Linked DNA regions of Homo sapiens: region 2 is linked to region 1. The links are contacts of gene promoters, found by promoter capture Hi-C in human tissues and cell types (Jung and others, 2019). All regions are on one chromosome and are shown on one strand. Each heading gives the region's core, a stretch centred on a gene start or on the middle of the fragment in contact. The rest is flanking DNA. Distances are from core to core; before and after follow the strand shown.

Region 1 (4,022 bases), core at 966-3,465:
CACTGAATAGTTTGTTGACATCTCCATGTCCAGAGCCTTCCACCTTGTCTAATGTTTAATCTCTAATATACACTTGTTGAATAAGTGAATGAAATTAACTTCCTCTCCAAATATTCCAAACAGTTGATGAATTGGGTTATTTATGCCCAATGAGAATTAATGATTTTGTAGATCAACAATATGAATGGCATCCATTACCATAAAGCCCAGTTGAATACTGCAGGGGAGAGGGTACTGGTGTGTAGGTGGACTTATTTGTCCTTTACTGTTGACCATATGCAATAGGAAATCCTCTGTAAATGTGCTGTCCTACATGGTAACCCCTAGCCACATGGGGCTATTTAAATAAAAAGTAATTAAAATTAAATAAAATGAAAATTCATTTCTTCAATCACACTAGTCACCTTTCAATGCTCCATAATTTTATGTGGCTACTGTCTTATCAGCACAAATAAAAAAAAATTTCCATTATAGCGAAAGTTCTATTGAATAGTACTATTCTAGAAATTTTAAAATGCCTTTGACGATTTAAAAATCAGAAGGGGCCTGTTTGACTAGCTTTGTATTCTAACTAAAATTTAACTTTGAGAGAGCCCAGTAATCTGTATTCCCAAGTGTCTCTGGGAAAAACCTAGACATGGAAAAGGAGCTTCATTGTCCAGCAGATGAAACATTTAGTCAGACGTGCTCATGCACAGCCAGGGACCGGTGTGGAAAGAACCATTCCTCCAAAGGCTCCAGGCAGGCCTAGTGTTCCAGGGACGCTGCCAGCACCTCGCTGGATCGAGCCATTATGTCTAATGCCATTCAATACCATCCCTTTGCGTTTGATGTCTAAAACAGAAGACTGAAATTTGAAGAGAAGGAAGTACTTGGGATGCCAAATGCACCCCAGACTATAGCTTTATGCACAACCTTTAGAGAGAAATTTGTTAATGCTCCCTTCTTCAAAAATCATATACCTTCAGGTAATTTCTTCCTAACGTAACTAAGGCACAATGATTTTGGCCAATACAGCTTAACTTTTTTTGAGATTCTGTTGCTGGACAATTTTCCTCCCTCATTGGAGAGGTAAAATTTTCCTGTCTTTGCCTTAGAAAATAAAACGGTTCATAGGCAAGAATAAAAATCATATCCTCCATTTTATTTTTTGATTAAGTTCACTTATTTTGTGGGGGTAAGAATTTCTTTCGTTTGGATCTTCAGGGTATTGGCCCTGTGAATGTGTGCCCATTTCTCCACTATTTGCCAGTCCCACTGAGCCAATCTTCTACCAAGACTGAAAATAGACCATAGTTCTCATTTCTTGAACAGATATCATCAGGAGAGCCGAGGGGGAGACCATTAGGCAGCCCCACATTTTCCAACTCAACAGGTGGAGGACATGGGATTTTTACGTTCTTTGGGGATTGAACCCCCACACACCACCAACTCCCTTAGCCTTTCAGGATAAGTATTTCCAATCCCTCAGAGATTTTCTTAGGAGAGACCCTAACGACAATGGTGCTTCTGTGAAGGACTGAGGAGAGCTGGTGGACGATGCAGGTAGGAGGGAAGTTAGGCTGGGAGGAGAGGTGCTGGGATGGGACGTTTGGTTTCCTGACAAGTGACCGACTAGAGAGAGAAGGCGCGGAGTGGCAGCGGTAAGAACAACGTGGAAAGGACGGAAAACGCGAAGAGTGGCGCCCTGGCGGACCTGGGGCGGGGCAGAGTGGTAAGGGTCACGCCAGGACGTACCCGGCTGTGGGCCGGGGGAGGAGAGCACGGTGGGACAGCAACGAACTTGCTGGGGGCTCCCGGACCCGAGCTCCGCCGATGAGGTCAGCGGAGCCTAGGCGCCGGGAGGAGGCCAGTAGAGCCCCCAGACACGAGTGTCGGGAGGCCAGCGGAGGGGCGGGACGGGACGGGAAATGGGACGAAGAGCAAGAGCTGGGGGAGGAGGGAAGAGGGGGCGTCGGCGCTGCAAGCCGGAGGCGGCCCGACAGGGATCGTTTCCTTCCGGAGAGGAGGCCGGCTCTGGACTGAGGCGCGGACGGGGGGCGTCCAAGGGCGGGTGACGGGGAAATACCGCGGCCCGCGCTTCTCTCCGGCTGGCAGCGGTGCCGCCTGCGGCTCCTCCTCCGGGCCAGCTCGGAGCCCGGCGGCGGGGGGAGCGGGAGGCGGGAGTGAGGGCGGGGGCTCGGGAAGGAGGGAGGAGGGAGGGCCCAGGCGCGCCACTGACAGGGTGGCAGCCTAGGAGCGGACGCGTTGCCGCCGCCGCTGCTCCTCCTCCTCCTCCTGCAGCTCCTCCAGCTGCCGCTGCTGCCGCCGCTGCCGCCACCGCCGCCGCCGGGAGAAGTTTCACTCCCGACCCTTGCTCGGAGCCCCGGCCCAGAGCTGAGCGGGAGCCCGGCAGGCAGCTGCAGCCCGCGGCAGTCGAGGCGTCCGCGGCGCTTCGACCTCCAGCCGGTGTCGGCGCCTAGGCGGCCGGCTGCGGCCGCGGCTGGGGGCGCAAAGGCGGAGGAGGGGCGGGTGTGAGCCGGGGAAACCGCGTGCCGCGCCGCGACAGCCCAGCGAGCGTCCGCGCCCGGGACAGCCGCGATGGCTGTGCGCTCTCGCCGCCCGTGGATGAGCGTGGCATTAGGGCTGGTGCTGGGCTTCACCGCCGCGTCCTGGCTCATCGCCCCCAGGGTGGCGGAGCTGAGCGAGAGGAAGAGACGTGGCTCCAGCCTCTGCTCCTACTACGGTCGCTCTGCTGCTGGCCCCCGCGCCGGCGCTCAGCAGCCGCTCCCCCAGCCCCAGTCCCGACCACGGCAGGAGCAGTCGCCGCCCCCCGCGCGCCAGGATCTCCAGGGGCCACCGCTGCCCGAGGCAGCACCCGGGATCACCAGTTTTCGAAGCAGCCCCTGGCAGCAGCCACCTCCGCTGCAGCAGCGGCGGCGAGGACGCGAGCCTGAGGGCGCGACGGGGCTTCCCGGTGCTCCAGCGGCCGAGGGGGAGCCCGAGGAGGAGGACGGGGGCGCGGCTGGGCAGCGGAGAGACGGCCGGCCGGGGAGTAGCCACAACGGCAGCGGGGACGGGGGCGCTGCCGCCCCGAGCGCCCGACCCCGGGACTTCCTGTACGTGGGGGTGATGACCGCGCAGAAGTACCTGGGCAGCCGCGCGCTGGCCGCGCAGCGGACCTGGGCGCGTTTCATCCCGGGCCGCGTGGAGTTCTTTTCCAGCCAGCAGCCCCCCAACGCCGGCCAGCCCCCGCCACCCCTGCCTGTCATCGCGCTACCGGGTGTGGACGACTCCTATCCTCCCCAGAAAAAGTCCTTCATGATGATCAAGTACATGCACGACCACTACCTGGACAAGTATGAGTGGTTCATGCGCGCCGACGACGATGTCTACATCAAAGGTGACCTCCCTGCGCCGGCTTTCCAGCCTGCCAGTCTCCCCGACTCCTTTCTCTGTAACCGGTCCTAGCCCCTGCCCAGCCCCTCCGCTGCTTCTCTGCCAGCACGTGCTTCGGGCTCCCACAGGCCCTGGCCCGCCCTCCCCACCCCTTGCATCCGCCCACAATTCGTAGCCCGTTCCTCGTCTTCTGCAATCTGGACCCTCCTCACACCTGCCTGGCTTTATTCGCCTTCCTCACTTGCTGTTTTCGGTGCCGCCTCGCGCTTGTCCCTTAGTCTTTACCTCGTCGGAGAGGTTAGAAAAGGAACCTTAGAGCTAAACCAAAGGCCATTCCCACTCTGCCCTCCTCTGAAAGCCCCTGCTGATGGTAGTTTCCCCAATCGGTCCAGAGGGGCGTGGTCTTCAGGAAGGGAAGACGGAGGATGCTAGCTACAACTAGTCTGGAGATCCAGTGTTCTGGCTTTGGATCTTGCTCTTTTGTTTAAACTGGATCTAGCGCACTTTTGGAACTGCTCAGATTGAGGAATCGTCTTCGCTGTCCCGGACCCTTTCCTATGTGTTCCCTTCCCTTTGGCTCAACTCTCCACATACTGGGAGTCCTTGGCCATCCCCACCGTGCCAGCGCGCTGCTCCTTCCAGCC
Region 2 (4,022 bases), core at 891-3,390, 1.2 Mb after region 1:
TTTTTTTTTTTTTTTTTTTTTTTGGCCTAGAATCTCACTCTGTCTCCCAGGCTGGAATGCAGTGGTGCAATCTCTGCTCACTGCAACCTCCACCTCCCAGGCTCAAGTGATTCTCCTACCTCAGCCTCCCTAGTAGCAGGGATTACAGGCACCCACCACCAAACCCGGCTAATTTTTGTATTTTTACTAGAAACGGGGTTTCGCCCTATTGGCCAGGCTGGTTTTGAACTCCTGACCTCAAATGATCCACCTGCCTAGGCCTCCCAAAGTGCTTGGATTACAGGCATGAGCCACTGCATCTGGCCACAGGAAGCATTGTCTATTCCCTAAGGTGATATAACACATTGGTAGAATAAGTGGTGAGAATATCAAAATAAATCTATTTTGAATAAATGGTCAAATATACTAGGCTCATCAAAAAGCTTATCCACCACAATCAAGTAGGCTGTATCCCTGGGATGCAAGGCTGGTTCAACAATAAATGTGATTCATCACATAAACAGAAGTAAAGACAAAAACCACAATTATCTCAATGGATGCAGAAAAGGCCTTTAATAAAAGTCAACATCCCTTCATGTTAAAAACAATTCTCAATAAACTAGGTATTAAAGGAACACACCTCAAAATAATAAGAGCCATATACAACAAACCCACAGCCAACATCATACTGAATGGGCAAAAGCTGGAAGCATTCACCTTGAAGCTGGCACAAGGCAAGGATGCCCTCTCTCACCACTCCTATTCAACATAGCATTGGAAGTCCTGGCTGGGGCAATCAGGCAAGAGAAAGAAATAAAGGCATCCAAATAAGAAGAGAGGAAGTCAAGCTATCCTCGTTTGCAGATGACATGATCGTATATCTAGAAAACCCCATAGTCTCAGCCCAAAACCTCCTCAAGCTGATAAACAACTTCAGCAAAGTCTCAGGATGCAAAAATCAATGTGCAAAAATCACTAGCATTCCTATATACAAACAACAGTCAAACCAAGAGCCAAATCATGAATGAACTCCCATTCACAATTGCTACAAAAAGAATAAAATACCTAGGAATACAGCTAACTAGGGAAGTGAAAGATCTCTACAAGCAGAACTACAAACCACTGCTCAAAGAAATCAGTGATGACACAAACAAATGGAAAAAATGTCATGCTCATGGATAGGAAGAATCAATATTGTTAAAATAGCCATATTACCTAAAGCAACTTATAGATTCGATGCTATTCCTATTAAACTACCACTGATATTCTTCACAGAAAAACCATTTCAAAATTCATATGGAACTAAAAAAGGGTCCAAATAGCCAAGGCAATCCTAAGCAAAAAGAACAAAGCTGGAGGCATCATGCTACCCAACTTTAAACTATATTACACACTATAGTAACCAAAACAGCATGGTACTGGTACAAAAACGGACACATGGACCAATGGAACAGAACAAAGAGCCCAGAAATAAGACCACCCACCTACAACTATTAGATCTTCAACAAAGTTGACAAAAACAAGCAATTAGGAAAGGATTCCCTATTCAATAAATGGTGCTGGGATAACTGGCTATCCATATACAGAAGATAGAAACTGAACCATTTCCTTACACCTTGATGTGGTTTGGCTGTGTCCCCACCTAAATCTTATCTTGAATTGTAACTCCCACAATTCCCACGTGTGTGGAAGGGACCCAGTCGGAGGTAATTGAATCATGAGGGCGGATCTTTCCCGTGCTGTTTTCGTGATCGTGAATAAGTCTCATGAGAGCTGATGGTTTTAAAAATGGGAGTTTCCGTCTCTTCTCTTGGCTGCCGCCATGTGAGACATGGCTTTCACCTTCTGCCATGATTGTGAGGCCTCCCCAGCCATGTAGAACTATAAGTCCATTAAACATCTTTCTTATGTCAATTGCCCAGTCTTGGGTATGTCTTTATTAGCAGTGTGAAAATGAAATAATACAGTAAATTGTTACCACTATGGTGGAGCATTGCTGAAAAGAGACCTGAAACTGTGGAAGCAACTTTGGAACTGGGTAACAGGCAGAGGTTGGAACAGCTTGGAGGGCTCAGAAGAAGACAGAAAAATGTGGCAAAGTTTGGAACTTCCTAGAGACTTCCAATACTGTGTTGAATAGGAGTGGTGAGAGAGGGCAGCCTTGCCTTTTGCCAGCTTTCAAGGCGAATGCTTCCAGCTTTTGCCCATTCAGTATGATGTTGGCTGTGGGTTTGTTGTATATGGCTCTTATAATTTTGAGGTGTGTTCCTTTAATACCTTTGCCCAAATGGCTTTGCCCAAAATGCCGACAATGATATGGACAATAAAGTCCAGGCTAAGATGGTCTCAGATGGAAATGAGGAAATTTTTGCGAAGTGGAGCAAAGGCGACACTTGTTACGTTTTAGGAAAGAGACTGGTGGCATTTTTCTCCTGCCCTAGAGATTTGTGGGACTTTCAACTTGAGGGAAATGATTTAGGGTATCTGGCAGAAGAAATTTCTAAGCAGCAAAGCATTCAAGAAGTGACTTGGGTGCTGTTAAAGGCATTCAGTTTTATAAGGGAAGCAGAGCATAAAAGTTCAGAAAATTTGTAGCCTGATAATGTGATAGATAAGAAAATCCCATTTTCTGAGGAGAAATTAAAGCTGGCTGCAGAAATTGGCATAAGTAGCAAGAAGACAAATGTTCATCCCCAAGACAACGGGGAAAATATCTCCAGGGCATGTCAGAGGTCTTCACAGCAGCCCTTCCCATCACAGGCCTGGAGGCCTAGGAGTTAAAAATGGTTTCTGTGGGCCAGGACTAGGGTCCCTCTGCTGAGTGCAGTATAGGGACTTGGTGCCCTGTGTCCCAGCCACTCCAGCCATGGCTGAAAGGGGCCAACATAGAGCTTGGGCTGTGGCTTCAGAGGTGCAAACCCCAAACCTTCACAGATTGCATGTGGCGTTGAGCCTGCGGGTACACAGAAGGCAAGAATTGAGGTTTGGTAACCACCACCTAGATTTCAGAGGCTGTATAGAAATGCCTGAAAGTCCCATTCACAATTGCTTCAAAGAGAATAAAATACCTAGGAATCCAACTTACAAGGGATGTGAAGGACCTCTTCAAGGACCTCTTCAAGGAGAACTACAAACAACTGCTCAACGAAATAAAAGAGGCCACAAACAAATGGAAGAACATTCCATTCTCATGGATAGGAAGAATCAATATCGTGAAAATGGCCATACTGCCCAAGGTAATGTATAGATTCAATGCCATCCCCATCAAGCTACCAATGACTTTCTTCACAGAATTGGAAAAAACTACTTCAAAATTCATATGGAACCAAAAAAGACCCCGCATTGCCAAGACAATCCTAAGCAAAAAGAACAAAGCGGGCAACCCACTCAGGTCCTTTTCCACATGGTGGAAGCTTTGTTCTTTCACTCTTTGCAATAAATTTTGCTGCTGCTCACTCTTTAAAAAAAAAAAAAAAAAAAAAAAAAAGCTGGAGGCATCATGCTATCTGACTTCAAACTATACTACAAGGCTTCAGTAACCAAAACAGCATGGTAGTGTTCTACCAATAGAACAGAACAGAGCCCTCAGAAATAATACCACACATCTTCAACCATCTGATCTTTGACAAACCTGACAAAAACAAGAAATGGGGAAAGGAGTCCCTATTTAATAAATTGTGCTGGGAAAACTGGCTAGCCATATGTAGAAAGCTGAAACTGGATGCCTTCCTTACACCTTATACAAAAATTAACTCAAGATGGATTAAAGACTTAAATGTTAGACCTAAAACCATAAAAACCCTAGAAGAAAACCTAGGCAATACCATTCAGGACATAGGCATGGGCAAGGACTTCATGACTAAAACACCAAAAGCAATGGCAACAAAAGCCAAAATTGATAAATGGGATCTAATTAAACTAAAGAGCTTCTGCACAGCAAAAGAAACCACCATCAGAGTGAACAGGCAACCTACAGAATGGGAGAAAATTTTTGCAATCTATCCATCTGACAAAGAGCTAATATCCAGAATCTACAAGGAACT

What was found. The method cuts DNA at HindIII sites, captures the fragments that hold promoters and counts their contacts. A contact is called where the count stands out against the background at its distance.
Region 2: a contact is called between a fragment that was not itself captured here and the fragment with the promoter of CHSY3 in region 1, in 1 of the 25 tissues and cell types used here (dorsolateral prefrontal cortex).

The regions. Positions count from the first base shown.
Region 1 is chr5:129,902,250-129,906,271 of GRCh38, forward strand. It overlaps CHSY3 (chondroitin sulfate synthase 3), which reads left to right and starts at 2,216. Exons shown (of 3, transcript NM_175856.5): 1 at 2,216-3,382. The coding sequence starts at 2,581. CHSY3-AS1 (CHSY3 antisense RNA 1) reads right to left here and starts at 3,678. Exons shown (of 3, transcript XR_002956248.2): 1 at 3,593-3,678. RefSeq lists a silencer at 2,374-2,583. The HindIII fragment of the contact is 7,648 bases long and covers 1-4,022 here.
Region 2 is chr5:131,124,529-131,128,550 of GRCh38, forward strand. No RefSeq gene overlaps it. Among named protein-coding and RNA genes, the nearest start is that of HINT1, 39 kb to the right of the region's middle. The HindIII fragment of the contact is 5,567 bases long and covers 1-4,022 here.